Linked DNA regions of Homo sapiens: region 2 is linked to region 1. Evidence: promoter capture Hi-C in 16 types of primary human blood cells and fetal thymus (Javierre and others, 2016). All regions are on one chromosome and are shown on one strand. The core of a region is centred on a gene start or on the middle of the fragment in contact, and the rest is flanking DNA. Distances in the headings are between cores, read along the strand shown.

Region 1 (3,258 bases), core at 382-2,881:
CCGGAACCCACCCTTCTACGTGTTGGTCCAGCTACTTCCTGGCTCACATCCCATCCCAGGCATGGAGTCCAGGGACCAGGCTGAGGGCAGGTAAGCAGTTCATGAGCCACCTCCCACAACGACTTCCCACCCAGTTCCAGGTGACTGGGCCTCTTAGGCACTTACAAGTTCATTCATCAACTCTCTGCTCCACCCATGCACTCTGCTCTGGGCCAAACTTTGTGCTTCCTCCTTGACTCACCCTAGGCAGCAGAAATGCGGAAATAACACACAACACTGGCCCTGAGAGGGGGCTGGGTCCACATGCCACCCTCCCCAGATCTCTATGTAGCCCCCCAGGCCCTGTGGGGATGACGGCTGAGTCTAGAAGAGGCATGGAACTCAGGCTGGGCTTCATCCCCATTTGACAGATGAGAAACTGAGGCTCAGAGTAGCAGAGGGTCTGGCCTGAGGTGACTGGGGAGCTGGGAAGAACGCCCCTCAAGGACCCTTGTCCTCTGTTTCTGCTGAAATGAAGATGATTCAGAGGCCAGAGTGGACCCCAAGCCAAGTCAGAATTCTGGGGAGCTGAGTGCTTAGTGAACTGAGGAAAAGCTGTGGACTTGAAAAAGGAAGAGTTGGAGGACACAAGCCCTGTTGAGTGCCTGGCACTGAGTAGGCACTGGTGAGCTGCTGAAGGGTTGACCAGAAGGTAAAAATAAAGATGTTTCTAGGCACTGTGCTGGGTGTTTGCTCTCCCCAGAGACTCCTAGACTGGGAGGCTCACATGAGCCAAGTCAACCAGTTCTAATCTGGGTCTGGGACAAGCTGGACTGAGCCTCAGTTTCCTGAGCTATGAAATGGGGATAAAAGTGGTGCCTTCTGAATGAAACCCTTCCCTGCAATGAGCATTTCAGCAGCCATGGTGGCCTCTGCTCTGCTATTACAGGTCTGTGGGGTAGGACACCGGTCAGAGAGAGTGACAACATAGTGGCAGGTAAAGGGCAGAAAAAGGGAATGCGAGAAGCTCAAGGCTCCTCCCCTCCACCCTAGGCACTGTCTTATAGGAGAGCAAGAGGGAATTAAGTCAGACACCCAGAAGAACTTCTCATGGGAACCACAGATGTTTGATGACCAGGAAGTGAGTCCCTGTTCCCTGGAACCCCCATGGCCCTGAGGTCTTCACCATTCTCCCTTTGGGGATTGGCTAAAAGCAACAGATTTGAAAAGGAGCCCAAAAGTAGGTGTGAGGCCATCTGTGGCCTCCAGCAGGTTCAGGGCTCACTGGAGTTGCAGGACCCACAGCCCCAGGGCTTGGGAGCAGCGGTGCCTCATCTGTCCTCACAGCTGCTCCGTTTGTTTCTGGGGGAAAACCCAGCCTTCCTCGGAGGGTTGGCGGACCAGCGTGGCCTGAGGGAGGGGTCCAGAAGCCAGGTGTGTGACTGGGCTGTGCGTCCCCCACCCCCACCCTTCCGCTTTCTGGAAGCTGAGCCTCTTTACCAGCTCTTACCTGTAAAGGGAGTATTGTAATTCACACCAGCTTTCAGCAGCACCACCAGCACCAAAAGCAGAAGTGGCGGCAGCTGGGGGCACGCCATTCCTGCGCCGGGAGGGCCTGCCACCGGCTCTGCACAGGTGTGTGGCCAGGTGTGTGCCCAGGTGCCAGCTCCTTGCACCTGCGTGTGCGCTCCCTGCTGGCGGAGCGCGGGGCTGTGCAGGGGCAAGGCGCAGGTGGGGCTGCAGGGTGTGGGACCTCCCTGGGGCGCTCCTGTTCCCCCGGGTGCGGTTCTCGCCCTCTTCACCTGGACTCCACCCCTTCTAAACACGACGACCCAGAAGCTCTCAAAGCCAGTCATCCACTAAAGACACCCTGCCCCTGCCGTCCTCTTTCCCCCTGCTCCTGGTTCCACAGCTGCCCAAACCCCTGCTGTCACTCCCTCTGCCCCTCGTCCAGCCAGGTTGTCCCCTCTGGGAGCACCAATTTCTCCCACCTCCCTCCGATCCCTGAACCCACAGGGCTGGGGATGTCCTTGTTCTCTGTCCTCGTCCTCCTCTGTCCTCTGTCTCACCCAGACTGGGGCCTTTTGGGGACATGACTGAAACCTTCTAACCTTCTAGCATTTCTATTATGGATTTCTTTTTCTTTCTTTTATTCTTTTTTTTTTTTGAGACGGAGTCTTGCTCTGTCACCCAGACTGGAGCGCAGTGATGCAATCTTGGCTCACTGCAACCTCTGCCTCCCGGGTTCAAGTAATTCTCCTGCCTCAGCCTCCCGAGTAGCTGGCGCCCGCTACCAGGCCTGGCTAATTTTTGTATTTTTTAGCAGAGACAGGGTTTCACCATGTTGGCCAGGCTGGTCTCGAACTCCTGACCTCAAGTGATCCACCCGCCTCGGCCTCCCAAACTGCTAGGATTACAGGCATGAGCCACCGTGCCCAGCCCTTTTTTTTTTTTTTTTTAAGAGACGGGGTCTCACTCTGTCGCCCAGGCTGAAGCACAGTGGCACAATCACAGCTCACTGCATTCTCAAACTCTGGGATTCAAGCAACCTCCCGCCTCAGCCTCCCAAGTAGCTGCGATTACAGGCGTGTACCACCATGCCCGGCTAATTTTTTTTTTTTTTTTTTGAGACTGAGTTTAGCTCTTGTTGCCCAGGCTGGAATGCAATGGCACAATCTTGGCTCACCACAACCTCCGCCTCCCGGGTCCAAGCGATTCTCCTGCCTCAGCTTCCTGAGTAGCTGGGATTACAGGCATGTGCCACCATGGCCGGCTAATTTTGTATTTTTAGTAGAGACGGGGTTTCTCCATGTTGGTCAGGCTGATCTCGAACTTCTGACCTCAGGTGATCTGCCCACCTCGGCCTCCCAAAGTGCTGGGATTACAGGCGTGAGCCACCGTGCCTGGCCTTTTTTTGTTGTTGTATTTTTTTTTAGTATAGATGGGGTTTTACCATGTTGGCCAGGCTGATAGCTCTAACTCCTGACCTCAGGTGACCCACTCGTCTTGGTTTCCCAAAGTGCTGGGATTACAGGCATGAGCCACCACACCCAGCCATCCTGTAGGATTTTTTAGGGGTGAGGGACTTGAGGTGAGTGCTCTGGGCCAGGTCCCAGGCACATTTCTAGAGTGCACTGGGGACAGTTTCCATCTGGGACGGGCTGGACACCACCCCACTACCTGTACGTGGATATGGCAGAGGCACAGCTGAGACCACATTGGCAGTGCCTGACCTCCAGGAAAGATTTGAGGTCCCCATGCTGGCCACAGACCCCAGAT
Region 2 (3,258 bases), core at 264-2,763, 300 kb before region 1:
GAAGAGCTCTGTCCCACCACTCCCGCCCCCGCCCCCCACACACAGCCTCTACTTCCCGGCTCTCGTGGTCTCGCTGGAGACAGCCCCCAGGGTAGGCCAGCTCTGTGGAAGGCAGCTCCTGTGCTCCTTTCTCCAGTGAACTTTTTTTTTTTAGTTTTGTTTTGTTTTGTTTTGTTTGTTTGTTTTGAGACAGAGTCTGACTCTGTCGCCCAGGCTGGAGCGCAGTGGCATGATCTTGGCTCACTGCAACCTCCACCCTCCACCCCACCGGGTTCAAGCGATTCTCCTGCTTCAGCCTCCCAAGTAGCTGGGATTACAGGCATGCGTCACCACGCACAGCTAATTTTTGTGTTTTCAGTAGAGATGGGGTTTCCCCATGTTGGCCGGGCTGGTCTCGAACTCCTGACCTCAGGTGATCCACCTGTCTTGGCCTCCCAAAGTGCTGGGATTGCAGGCGTGAGCCACTGAGCCAGGCCTCCTTGGTGAACACTGACTGACATCCAGGGTCAGCACTAAGCTGCCCATGGGGGTGTGGAGAAAACAGAGGTGGTGGTCATTTAGTCAATCAACAAACACTGAGCAAGCTAGCTACTGTCTGCCAGGCCCTAGGCTGGATGCTGGGATGCAATAAGGACAAAGGCCAGCCCAGGTCAGCCCTTGTGGAATTTCATGGGGCATCAATTAAGCTTAAGTGTTTTGTGCTGGATACAGTGGCTGATGCCTGTGATCCCAGAACTTTGGGAGGCCAAGACAGGAGGATCACTTGAGCTCAGGAGCTTGAGACCAGCCTGGGCAATGTAGCAAGAACCCATCTCTACAATTTTTTTTTTTTTAAATTAACCAGTGGGGTGGTGCATGTGTGTGGTCCCAGCTACTCTGGAGGCTGAGATGGGGGGATCACTTGAGCCCAAGAGGTCGAGGATACAGTGGGCTATGATTGAACCACTGTACTGTAGTCTGGGTGACAGTGAGACTCTGTCTCAGAAAGAAAGCGAGAAAGAGAGAAAGGGGGCCAGGTGTGGTGGCTCATGCCTGTAATCCCAGCACTTTGGGAGGCCGAGGTGGGCGGATAATGAGGTCTGGGGATAGAGACCATCCTGCATGGTGAAACCCCGTCTCTACTAAATACAAAAAATTAGCCAGGGGTGATGTCGGGAGTGCCTGTAATCCTAGCTACTCAGGAGGCTGAGGCAGGCAGGAGAATCGCTTGAACCAGGGAGTTGGAGGTTGCAGTGAGCCGAAATTGCAGCACTGCACTCCAGCCTGGCGACAAAGCGAGACTGTCTCAAAAAACAAAACAAAACAAAACAAAAAAACAAAAAACAGAGAAAGGGAGGGAGGGAGGGACAGAGGGAGGGAGGAAGGAAGGAAGGAAAGGATGGAGGGAGAGAGAGAAAAAAAGGAGAGGAGAGGGGAGGAGAGGAGAGGGGAGGAGAGGGGAGGAGAGGAGAGGGGAGGGGAGGGGAGGGGATGGTGGGGAAGGGGAAAGGGAAAGGGAAAGGGGAAAGGGAAAGGGAGAAGAGAGAGAGGGAGGGTAGGAGGGAGGGAGAGAGAAAAAAAGAAGGAAGGAAAGAAGGAAGGAAGAAAAGAAAGAAGAAAGAGGAAGGGAGGGAGGGAAGGAAGAAAATTGTTTTGTATTAGGAAGAAAATAGAATATGAGGATGTATTAGTGACCAGAGGAGCAGGGAAGCCTCTTGTAAAAGTCAGAGAGGCCTCTCTAGGGCAGTGATCATGAGCTGAGACTTGAAGGAAGAGGAGGAACTGGCCTGCTGACAGCTGGGGGAACAGCATACCCAGCAGAGGGAACCACATGTGCAAAGGTCCTGAGGTGGGAATGAGCTTGGCGTGTTTGAGGAACAGTGAGGAGGCTGCTGTGGCTGGAACAGAGTGAGTGGGAGAGAGGAGGAAGATGAAGGCAAGATCGGCAGGTAGGAGCCAAGCTACAAGGAACTCAGCGGCTGCAGTGAGGGTGTGGACTTCAGAGCAATGGGGAACCATGGCAGGTGTGTGAGCAGGGGAGAGGCATGGTCTCAGTTAGGATTTTCAGAAGCCCTGTGGCTGCTGTGGAGAGCAGGGCAGGAGTGGAGGTGGCAGGAGCCCAGAGTGGAGGCCCAGGAGATGTCTGGTGGTTTCAGCTGGGTTGGTACCAGGGTAGAGCCTCAGATGGAAAAAAGTGGGCACATTCTGGGACTGGGTTGGGGATGGAGGATGAAATGTGGCCAGGTTTCCATCTCATGCCAAGTAGCTACTGTGAGAGAAGGGAGCACTCATTGTGCTTGGGGAAACCTGGGAAGGCATCCTGGAGGAGGTGCTCTTTGGGCTGAGCCTGGAAGGTCAAGTAGAAGCTTGCCAGCAGATAAGGCTGGGGTCATGTGGGATCTAACTGCTCAAATGCCAGGGGATCACTGAGCACCCAGAATCTGGGGCAGTATAATCAGATTTGTAACCAAGAAAGATCCCTGTAATCCCAGCACTTTGGGAGGCCAAGGTATGAGGATCACTTGAGGACAGGAGTTCAAGAACAGCCTCAGCAACATGGCAAGACCCCATCTCTACAAAAGGAAAAAAAATAGCTAGGCATGGTAGCACACACGTAGCCCCAGCTACTCAGGAGGCTGAGGTGGGAGGATCACTTGAGGACAGGAGATCGAGGCTGCAGTGAGCTCTGACTGCACCACTGCACTCCAAACTGCTGCGAGACAACAGGAGACCCTGTCTCTTTTTTTTTTTTTTTTTTTTTTTGATACAGGGTCTCACTCTGTCATCCAGGCTACAGTGCAGTGATGCAATCTCAGCTCACTGCAACCTCCACCTCCCAGGCTCAAGTGATTCTCGTGCCTTAACCTCCTGGGTAGCTTGGGACTATAGATAGGTGCCTGCCACCGTGCCCGGCTAATTTTTATTTTATTTATTTATATTTTCAATTGTATTTATTTATTTATTTATTTATTTATGAGACGGAGTCTTGCCTCGTCGCCCAGGCTGGAGTGCAGTGGCGCGATCTCGGCTCACTGCAAGTTCTGCCTCCCAGGTTCACGCCACTCTCCTGCCTCAGCCTCCCGAGTAGCTGGGACTACAGGCGCCCGCCACCACGCCTGGCTAATTTTTTTTTGTATTTTTAGTAGAGACGGGGTTTCACCGTGTTAACCAGGATGGTCTCGATATCCTGACTTCGTGATCCACCCGCCTCGGCCTCCTAAAGTGCTGGGATTACAGGCGTGAGCCACCACGTCCAGCCCTATTTATTTATTTATTTAT

The links. The method cuts DNA at HindIII sites, captures the fragments that hold promoters and counts their contacts. A CHiCAGO score of 5 or more calls a contact.
Region 2: a fragment that was not itself captured here is called in contact with the fragment with the promoter of CIST1 in region 1 in 3 of 17 cell types (naive B cells, neutrophils and total B cells); the score reaches 5.4 in naive B cells.

Annotation. Positions count from the first base shown.
Region 1 is chr19:18,253,731-18,256,988 of GRCh38, forward strand. It overlaps CIST1 (colon, intestine and stomach enriched 1), which reads right to left and starts at 1,632. Exons shown (of 4, transcript NM_001396036.2): 1 at 1,490-1,632. The coding sequence starts at 1,577. It also overlaps a transcript of PDE4C not described here. The HindIII fragment of the contact is 13,123 bases long and covers 1-3,258 here.
Region 2 is chr19:17,955,762-17,959,019 of GRCh38, forward strand. It overlaps a transcript of KCNN1 not described here. Among named protein-coding and RNA genes, the nearest start is that of KCNN1, 9.7 kb to the right of the region's middle. The HindIII fragment of the contact is 1,659 bases long and covers 685-2,343 here.